3 separate regions of the Homo sapiens genome follow, and all the other regions are linked to region 2. The links are contacts of gene promoters, found by promoter capture Hi-C in blood cells and fetal thymus (Javierre and others, 2016). All regions are on one chromosome and are shown on one strand. Each heading gives the region's core, a stretch centred on a gene start or on the middle of the fragment in contact. The rest is flanking DNA. Distances are from core to core; before and after follow the strand shown. Region 1 has its middle 68 kb from the start of LINC02986. Region 2 holds the start of PAG1 (phosphoprotein membrane anchor with glycosphingolipid microdomains 1). Region 3 overlaps ZNF704 (zinc finger protein 704).

Region 1 (3,410 bases), core at 58-2,557, 510 kb before region 2:
AAGGTAGTAACTTTTTAAAAAATTGAGACGGGGATCTTGCTATATTGCTCAGGCTGCTCTCAAACTCCTGTGCTCAAGCAACGCTCTCACCTTGGCCTCCCAAAGTGGCGTGAGCCACCATGCCCAGCCAAAAGGTAGTAACTTGAGCTTCATGTGAAATTTGGAATTTTGTATTTCATTGAAAGAAGTAGTCACCAGTGTGGATGACAGGTAAGGGTCGCTAGACAGAAGAATGGAGCAGTAAGTCACTTAGTCTCTGATCATTTCCAGCCTCTGTTTTCTTCCAGAAGTCTGTGCTCTTGTGGGTTTCCTGTGGCCTCTCTAGCTAATCCTTCACGGTTTCTTTGATGGGCTAATCCTTGCTATGGAGCTTTTATTGTTGACATTCCTCAAGTCCTAGTCCTCAATTTCCATTATAGACTATGAGCAGATGGCCCCAAAATGTAGAATATTTTTCTTCTTACTGGTATTTCCCTTTTAAAATTTCCCCAGTCCTTCAATAAAAGAAAGTCAACCTTGATAACCAGGTGATTGGAGAGATGGAAGGGTAGGACAGTCAAGAGGTGCCTCCTTGGCTTTCTCTCCCTCAGGCCCCATAAAGAAAAGCTGGATCCCATGAAGGGAACACAGGTGCAGGGGGTGACATGGTGACCAGCAGTACAGTGAAGGGGCCACGGTGAGGCAGAACTTGATGGAGACGCATGACCTCCACAGAGAGCATCTCGGGAAGTGACTCCAGAGAGGGAAAGAGTCCATTTTCCCACAATGTGAGAGCAGGTGTTCTCCACCCTGGATGCTCAGGAGAATCAGCAGAGAATCACTGGGGAGATTTTTAAAGTGCCAGTCCCCTACCGTGAAACAATAAAACCAGATTTGGGGATGGGATCCTGGGCATCAGGAATCTAAAAATGCATAGCCAGGGTTGAGAACCACCTTGCTGGAGGAAGCTGACCTGAAGAATGAGTGGAGGTGAGGGTAGAGGAGCGTGAACTTGACTCTCTCCCTGCTCTCACCAAAGGTCCAGGAGATGGGAACCTGGACCTGCTGATGGACATCTTGCCACCATGTATAGCCCAGGAATAAACCTAGCATGGGAGGCTGTGGAGCTGAGCTAGGAAGAGAGTCAAATTTTGCTGACATCATTTGAGACATTCCTGAAGCTAATACTGTTTCTGGAAATGTCAGTTATGTATCCCACATCTTCTCTTTTTACTTAAAACCCAGTATGGCTTGGGTTTTCTGTCTTCGCACGGGAACAGCTGAGGACTGCTTGTGTGGTTATTACTGCCTACCTCCTTCTTTAACACCAAAACCTTGGAGGGGCGTTTGCATTTTAGGGATTATATGAAGGGCTTTTGTTTATTTATTTTTAATTGCTTTGAGACAGGATCTTACTCTGTTACCCAGGCTGGAGTGCAGTGGCATGATCGTAGCTCAGTGCAGCCTTAAACTCCTGGGCTCAGGAGATCCTCCTGCCTCAGCCTCCTGAGTAGCTGGTACTATAGGTGCATGCCAACATGCCTGGCTAATTTTTTTTTTTTTTTTGGTTTTGAGACAGAGTCTCCGAGTCTCACTCTGTCACCAGGCTGGAGTGCAGTGGTGTGATCTTGGCTCATGGCAACTTCCACCTCCTTGGTTCAAGTGATTCTCCTGCCTCAGCCTCCCGAGTAGCTGGGACTACAGGAGTGCGCCACCACGCCCAGCTAATTTTTGTATTTGTAGTAGAGACGGAGTTTCACTGTGTTGGCCAGGATGGTCTCGATCTCTTGACCTTGGGATCTGCCTGCCTCAGCCTCCCAAAGTGCTGGGATTACAGGTGTGAGCCATCACATTTGGCCACCTGGCTGATTTTTATTGTTTTTGTAGACAGGGTCTTGCTACGTTGCTCAGGCTGCTCTTGAACTCCTAGCTTCTAGTGATCCTCCCACCATGATCTCCCACAGTGCTGGGAATATATGCATGAACCACCACACCCAGCCCGACAGGCTTTATTTTTGCTTTGGTTGGCAGAGACTGCTTATTGTGTCCCAATATTTGCTCTCTCTTTTGTCCATGTAATAGCATTTTTAGCTGAGCTGCTTAGACAAATAGACTACAATTCTTAGTGTCCATTGCCTCTGTGCCAATAGGCACAACTTTGGCCAATAGGATGCAAGCAGAAGCACAGCAGTAGCATGTGGAACCCTCAAAAACCAGCAAGAATGGACGCTGTTCTCCAACCTTTCTCCGTTGTGCTATCTGGAACATGGATGTCTCCATCTTCAGCTTGAGGAAGAGGCCGTAGGAATGGTGGATGAGTTGGATGAGTAGGATGGTAGTGAGTTGGATGGGGAGCTTGAATCCTCAGAACTCCAGGGAACAGAGCCACCACATTGACTGTGGCCTGATACTTCCAGAGTTCATTTATGTGAATGAGAAATAAATTTCTATCTTAATAAGCCAGTGCTATTTTGGGTTTTCTGTCACTCAAAGTGGAATCTAATTCTAACTAATATCCCCTATTAAGTTTCGTCTTGATAGATTTGGACCGTCACTTTGTGTCTTTGGGTCCTGATGTCATCATTCAACATCTCCTTTACCCCATCCAGCTATCTGTCATCTGTTAATGAGATCAGCGTGCCCTCAGTACTTCCATCCAAGTCATTAATAAAAATAGGATCGGGAGAGGGCTGAGGACAGCGGCCTCCAGCCTGCTCCAGCGAGCTCTCTCGTTAGGGTACTGGTGAGCTATCCACCTTGCCTTGGACACTTCAGAGGTGGTGTGGAGGAACATTGAGGAGTTTCAGCCATAGATCCACAGCTGTCAAGCTTTAGCATACATCAGGAACACCAGAGGGCTTTTTTTCTTAAATTTAATTTTTAATTTGTTTTAGAGAGAAACTTTTACTCTGTTGCCCAGGCTGGAGTGCAGTGGTGTGATCATAGCTCACTGTAACCTCGAACTCCTGGGCTCAAGCAATGCTCTTGCCTCAGCCTCCTGAGTAGCTAGGACACGACTATAGGCATGCACCACCATGCCTGGCTAATTTCCTTTCTTTTGTGGAGATAGGGATCTTGCCATGTTGCCCAGGCTGGCATCAAGCAATTCTCCTACCTCAGCCTCCCAAAGTGCTGGGATTACAGGCGTGAGCCACCAAAGCCCAAGTATCAGTATTTCTAACAAGTCTCAGGTGATGCTGATACTGACAGGTTAGAGGCCCCACTTTGACAACTACCTTTTTTGGAAGGTGAACTGCAAGACAGAACAAATACTTCAAAGTAGTTTGGCTCTAGAAGGTAAGTCCTTCAGGAGACAAGAGGGATGAACTGCAGAATATCTGGTGGAGGATTGGACTATGATGGGACCAGGCTCTGCATTGGGGCTTATAGGAAGGAGGCCAGCAGAGTGGGGAATGGATGAAGGCAGGTAG
Region 2 (3,792 bases), core at 1,193-3,692:
AATGTCCATAGAGTCCAAAGATGCATTTCCTTTCATAACAATGAAAATTTTTCCCAGAACAAGCTTAATATGCCAGATACTGGCCCAACAGCTCTATGTCTATGAACTCATTTAATTCTCACTACTGTTCAGTGGGGTAGGTACTACTACTGTCATCCCCATTGTACAGATGAAGACACTGAGGCACAGACTTTGGGTTACTTGCCTAGATTCAAACAGATGGTACCAGAGCTGGCAGCCTGGCTCCATAGCCTGTCCTCCTAACCAGGCTGCAATAGGGCTTAATGGGTCAATCTGTTTGAGATTCCATGCTTGGATGTAATCTCTTCTAGAGATAAGCACTGGATGCTCTCACAAACCGCAATGTGTTGATGTGACTAACTTTTCAACTTCTGAAATAACATTTTGTGTATTTTCTTAGTATTCCTAAAAAAAAACCCTTTACACTTTAAATAAGGTGCCTATAACTAGTTCATCTTGTTCTGCATGCTGAAATACCATAAATAAATGCACTTCTCTCTTCAAAGATTATGTAAATAAATCTTACATTAAAACATACCCCTGAGCTTTGGTTTAAACAATAATTTCAAGTCCAAATTAAACATTTATGTATGTGTATATATATTTAGCAGGAAAGTCTTAATATGACCTATTTTGTTAAACTAATGACATCTATACCCAATACTCCAAATATTCCTCTTATTTATAATATTCGCTGTGTAACAGTCACACAGCAGTACTGCATGGTACTTCAAAGTACTATTCCTTTTACAAGTTTAACCAACTCAGGTATTAAACATCAATGATGATAATCCATAGCTCTGCTTAAAAGGAATCTCTCGGGAACAGCTGAGAAAGAAAGGTTAAAGATTTCTATCCTTCAAAGTAGGGCACTGCAGCTACCTATAAATCATGCTCTTTGTTTATTAAGATAATTAGGCCCATCAGTACACTTAACTTTTAGACTCAACAATTGTCTGGCATGAACAATTTCCACTTTTTCTAAAACAAAGGGGATGTGTTCAAAAAGCGGTCCTCTGCATGCTCTCTGCACAATGCATGCTATTTTAAAACATGATTTATGGGTCTAATTCCTGGAGCTGCCTTGAAAAATATAGTGGGTTGTTCCTCCCATGCTCCCTATTAGGAGAAGACACTCCAATTTGAAGAGTGCACTCTGTTTCAGACTTCAGGCCGCTATATCATGTCAGCATTTTCAGTAAATACTGTTCAATTGGACTTTAAACAAATGGAATGGAGGGCCACAGCTGCAGCCACTGCAGAGATAAAGTTATCCAGCCGGGAGGCTTACATAAGAGGTGCAGGACAATCAGGGTGAAATCCAAGTGTCATTATCTGAATCCTATTTCTTGAGACTTGCCTACATTCTTAAAGTGTATGAATTCACACGCCCAGAGCTCGTTTTATTTGCCTTAGGGCATAAAACACCGGGTCGACATATAAGTTGTTTTTTCCCTAAAGGACTAGGCTCCAATTATGAAAAGGTTGGCAACTTCTGCCTAGGGGAAGAGTAAAGCGGGATGCGCGGGAAGCCTGCAGGCCTGAAAGAAATGGCTCGCCCAAAGATCCATCGCAGTGCTGGCCACACTCCCCAGAGGAATTAGGATGGAGGTGACAAGACCCTGCCCAGCCCCTTCACCCCAACGTAAACACAGAGTCAAGGAGCTTGGAATGAATAATTAGCACGCAGCAGTCGAAATGCCCTAGGAGTACCTGTCCTCTCCCAGCATATTTCCAACTGGCACATTCGTGAGATGCTGAGGTCAGCCAGCCCTGGACTCCAGACCTTCCAGCTGCCTTGTCCCCTTCTTGGCACCCCGCACTCCCTCCTCGAGCTGGAACTCTGTTAACAAGAGGTGCCACCCTCGGCTTCCCACAAGAAGATAAAAACGAACCTCTCCTTCCCACGGCTCCCTCCAACTTCAGAAACTACAGTCAACTTACTGGGACTCAGGAGGCAGGGAGTCTTCCTGGCGGACGGCGCTCGGAGGCAGCCTCTGCAAACTCCGGCGCGCAGCGCCGCCGCCCCGGCACAGCCCGGCAGCAGCGGCAAGTGCAGGACCAGGCGCCGCCGCTCTGCACCAGTCGCCTTGGCTCAGCTGTGCCGGGCGCCGGGCATTCGCCAGGGCACACGACTCAGCGAGGCGGCGGCTGGGACTGAGGCTACTGCACCCGGCCGCGCGGACCCGAGCGCTGCAGCTGCCTCCAGCCCCGGAGCGCGGCGCTCCGAGCCCCTGGTGGGTGTCTCTGGCTCCAAGGGAATCACGGCTCAATTAGGGACCTGCCAGGAGAAAAACCGATGCGCTGCCGCAGGCAGAGCCGCCAGCCCGCCCCCAGTCGGCTGGTCACATCGCGGGCGCGCAGACGGACAAGCGAGCGGGAGGGTACCGCAGCCAGCACTCGCCGCCGCGCCGCGGAGAATGACAGGCGCCGAGGCGGAGCAGCCGCGCGGGGAGCGGGGCGCGAGTGCGCATGATCCTGGCCGCAGCGGCACGTCACGGGGGAGGAGGGGCGGGCCGCGGGGCGGGAGGGGGCGAGCCGGGCGGGGCCGGGCTGGGGGTGCACACGGGTGAGGACCGGCGCGGGGCCTGGCTTGCTCGCGGGAGGATGCAGGAAGTCTTCCCTGCCCTGATTTTATGAACCCAAAGCTCTGTGGTTGAACTTGTCCCAGGAGCCCATTGTCCTTTAAACAGCACCGTTTAAGCGGTCCTTAAGGTCCCTGGGGAGCCCACAAAAGCCAATTTAATTCAGGTTACAGCTTAACCGTAAAGGGTTGCCATTTGGGGGACAGTGATCTTCTATTGTGGCTGTGCATTAAAATAACTTGGGGAGCTTGTAAGAACCCTTTGCCCCGGACGCATCCCAGAACAAGTACAGGACAATGTCTGGGTGGGGCCCACCCAGGTATCAGTAGGTATCTAAAGATACCAAGGTACAGCAGTGCTTCTCAAACCCTCAGTGTGTGACAGAATCTCCTGCGGATTGTGATGAGATGCAAGATTCAGATTCAGTAGGCCTGGGATAATGAGGGAGACATCCTTTCTAACAAGCTCTCGGAGGATGCCAATACTGGAGGTCCAGACCCCCATCCTTGCTACTTAACGTGTGATCTAGAGCCTGGAGCAGAGCTTCTGAAACAGTTGGCCTGTCTGACAGTCACCCGAGGGGCTTATAAAAAACGCAGAACAAATGCCCAGGCCGTACCCCCAGTGATAGTGGTTCTGGCTCAGCCCCTGGCAAAGGTGGGCTTCTAGAATTCCATTTGGCATCAACACTCTAAATAAATCTGATAGGGGTTTTGTTTGGGCCAAACTTCAAGTTTACACTAGCAACCTGGAATTGGGAATAAACTTTTGCACTTACAAGGAGACAAACCAAGTCTAGAACTCAGGACATCTGACTTTGAGTCAGGGATTCTAAACCAACGGGTGCTTTATCTGACTAGTCCCAATTTTCTAAAATTATGATGCATTACTTAGCAAGAAAAAACATATAAATGGCATTAAATATACACACACACACTCTATTGAACACTCGTTACACATATCATTAATGGGAGCTTAAAGGTGGCTGGGGAAGAAGGCTCATCAGGAGAGGGTAAGGAAGACAGTGATGGAGTAAGGGATGTTGTTAGTGTGTCGCAGAGGGAAGGGTATGTGGGAGGAAACAGTTTAGACTCAGCCTACAGCTTGGAAAAGCCCATTGGGGAAGCGGACCCAGGAACCAGACTTGGCCTCTTGCTTCAGAGCATGGTATGAAACTCAGGTGTTT
Region 3 (3,315 bases), core at 735-3,234, 430 kb before region 2:
ATTGGGAACCACTCTGTGCCTGGTCCTGTGCTAGCAGCTTCCACGTGTACTTTATTTAACACCCGCAACAGGCCCAGGAGGAGCTGAAGCTCCACGCAGTCGTGAGCAGACTCCTGGAATCTCACATATGCCTGATGTGAGATGCATAGCAGCTTCCAGACAAACTCTTTAGAATTTCTCAACATTGATGCTGTGGGCCACAATGGTTGGAGAGAACTTCCCAGAGATTTTCGCCTTTGCAGCAGCTTCTGAACTGTCTCTAGAACTTCCTTGGGTCTATTGGCTGAGACCTTTGGCCAAGGTGTCCCTGATTTTCTCTCTGCTTGCCCTACCAATAGTAAGCCTCAATCCTGTTTCTAAAAAATGGTTTCATACTTGGAATATACGAAGTAGCTTCTATTTTCTTGACAGAACCCAGAGTGATACTTAGGATTGATATAGTGACTGCTGAAGGTCACCTTCAGTTCCAAGAGTGGAAACATGGCTGGAATTTGAAGAATTATGTAACATTTTTGAAGTGCTTCAAAGTATTGTATAACATGCATATGACGTGTAAGTCCAACTAAAGCTATATTCTAGAAAGCACATGAACGTCACTTTATCAGTCAGCAGCCTGGAGTTAACGTCATGTTCTGAGGTGACTAAAAGGATCTTCAGGTATTTTTTTTTTTTTTGTATTGTGACTTGTGTGTGTGGTTTTGGAATGGCAGGGCAGGGACAGGGGCTTACACATCCAAGCCTCTCCAGAGAGGACCAGGGACCTTGACGGACAGAGAGGGCCAAGTTATTCTGTGCAGGTGAGTTGGCTGCATTATACAAACTTCCTCTGCCTGTCTCATGAAAACCCACACACCTTGGCAGCGGCTCCAATGGCTCTTTCAGGGTCAAGAGGTCCACACAGATCCCCAGCAGGTGCCAAAAGATCAGTAAATGCGCTCGTGTATTTAAAAATTAGTAACTTCCTAGAAGCTGGTAGGGGTTCCAGAAGCAGCTATGTTACCTCATGCTACCTCACGGTTACACAGTATACATGTTGCCTTACCTTTTGGGGGCTTTATTTATTTATTTGTAAGATGAGGGGACTGAATGAGAGTAGAGATTTTGGATCTTCAAGGTGTGTGGGGTTAATACAAAGTAACAGGTGAATTCAATGTATACCAAGCACGGATGAAACACCTCCCACCTCCATGTGCTGTTTATAGATGCTGTGGTGATACGTGTATACAAAATTAACAAAACAGTTCTGTAAATGGAATAACCCAGAATGTATTCTTTTGTGCCTGGCTTTTTTTCCCCCTCTGCATAATGTTTTTTTTGATTCACTCACTGTTTCTTGTATCAGTAGTTTGCTCCCTTTTATGTGGTGAAGTATCCCATTGTATGGTTATAATGCAATTTGTTTATCCAGGTACCTGTTGATGGGCATTTGGGTTGTTTCCAGTTTGGGGTGATAATGAATAAAGCTGCTATAAACATTTGTCTGCAAGTTTTTTTGTGGACATGTGTTTTCTTATCTCTTAGGTAAATACATACCTAAGAGTGGAATTGCTGGGTCATATGGTAAGTGTATATTTAACTTTCTAAGAAACTGCCAAACTGTTTTACAAAGTGGTTGTACCATTTTACATTTCTACCGGCAATAAATGAGAGTTCCTGTTGCCAACATTTGGTATTTTGTATACTAAAAATACACACTGTATAATTCCATTTACTTGAAATTCTACAACAGGCAGCATTAATCTATAGTGATGAAAGTTATACCAGTGGTTGGTTGCCTGTCTGGGGCTTGGTGGTGCCTTTGACTGAAGCGGCGTATGAGGAGTGCTGGCCTTGGTTAGAGTGGTGGTTACTCAGGTAGAGACAGTCAAAACTCACTAAATGGTATACTTAAAATGGGTTCATTTTATTCTGTGAAAATTATACCTAATAAAGTTGATTTTAAATGATTTCTATAACAGCAACACCAAACAACAAAACGATTTCTGAATTAACAGAAATCCCTAGTCATTCTGTGCTTCCTCAATCAATGAATTCTAAAAGTGCATCTCATCTTTGGGGACGTCTGGACATTTCTAGACATACTGAGTAGTCCTTTAACTTGGAAAGATTGAGACTGGGCTAGAAGATTTCCAAAGTCCTTCGAACTCCAATGTCCCAGAGCCTATATACTGCATGGCAGGTTATTCTAAGATCTTGTCACTAAGTTACCTAGATATCACTCCTCTTTATCCTGAATTTTCTCTATGAGGCCAATCAGCTCCCTGCCCTGGCTGACAATGCTGTATGTACCATCACCATGAAATCCATGCAGTTGATCCAAGCTGCTGTTCTTAGCATCGCCCTCCCCAGCAGTTTTAACAGATGGATCTATTTCTGGAACAGCCGTTCTTTTTGCAAGAGGCACTCTCTGCTCAAAATTAGTGGGTTAGGAATTAAGTCAGCAGAGAGACTGGCAACATGCTTATTCGTGAGGGTTTTACGGGTTTGTTTTCTTCTTGGAGCAGCCATTCACAATTTAAAGTGATTCATAGCTTTTTGGCTCTGGAAGATTAAAAATACAGAGTGGAGCAAATGATTAATTGTTTGCTACTGTACAACTATTACTGAAGCACCTTATGTTAACTCAGTGCTTTCTTCTCTAACTTGAGGTTCTTCCTAGTACACAGGTACAACTGTTCATGGTTAAGACACATACCTGTGAAATAAATGGAAATGATGAAGGCTGAAATTTAGAAATTGCCTCTGAGATGCTGCCAATGTTCTGAAATGCAGAGTCCTGAGTCAGATTTCCTTTTATGCCCCCAATTTCTGCTACTGTCCTTGCTGCACTCACCCAGTGCATTGCAGGGGGGCTAATGCACACCCAATTGAGCACAGGGTGGCTGAGGGATCTGGAGTTATCCTGAGCCACTGTGGCATTGGCACGGTCAGTGTGGGTCAGGGTGGAGGGTGGAGGCAAGCACCCCCTTCTCTCCACACCTATGCTTCTCAAATTCCCCATTCAGGCAGTTGCCAAACGGCGGTGGGGGAGGGGGGAGGAGGAAAGGCAAAGTATTAGCAGCTAACATTTATTGCTCTTTACAGGGCCTCTCGTATATTCCTGACAACAGCCACATCAATATGGTGCCACCATTTTCCTTATTTTACAGATGAGGAAACTGATGCTGAAGAGGCCAAGTGACTTGCTTAAGTCATGTAAGTCCTAAAGCTGGCATGACAATTTTGGAATGCACAGAATCCAGAATCTGACAGAATCAGGGATCTGGCATGGAAAGGGCACACAAATCATTTCTGATCAGCGCTTCTTGACTTTCT

The links. Contacts are between HindIII fragments. The CHiCAGO score rates a contact against its expected background, and 5 or more counts as called.
Region 1: a fragment that was not itself captured here is called in contact with the fragment with the promoter of PAG1 in region 2 in 1 of 17 cell types (fetal thymus); the score reaches 5.2 in fetal thymus.
Region 3: a contact is called between a fragment that was not itself captured here and the fragment with the promoter of PAG1 in region 2, in 1 of 17 cell types (M2 macrophages). The highest score is 6.5, in M2 macrophages.

What each region holds. Positions count from the first base shown.
Region 1 is chr8:80,605,454-80,608,863 of GRCh38, forward strand. No RefSeq gene overlaps it. Among named protein-coding and RNA genes, the nearest start is that of LINC02986, 68 kb to the left of the region's middle. The HindIII fragment of the contact is 2,998 bases long and covers 1-2,806 here.
Region 2 is chr8:81,109,626-81,113,417 of GRCh38, forward strand. PAG1 (phosphoprotein membrane anchor with glycosphingolipid microdomains 1) reads right to left here and starts at 2,443. Exons shown (of 9, transcript NM_018440.4): 1 at 1,966-2,443. RefSeq lists an enhancer at 1,889-1,958 and a silencer at 2,449-2,578. The HindIII fragment of the contact is 5,316 bases long and covers 62-3,792 here.
Region 3 is chr8:80,679,704-80,683,018 of GRCh38, forward strand. The region is part of intron 4 of ZNF704 (zinc finger protein 704); the gene reads right to left. Among named protein-coding and RNA genes, the nearest start is that of LINC02986, 140 kb to the left of the region's middle. The HindIII fragment of the contact is 4,455 bases long and covers 1-3,315 here.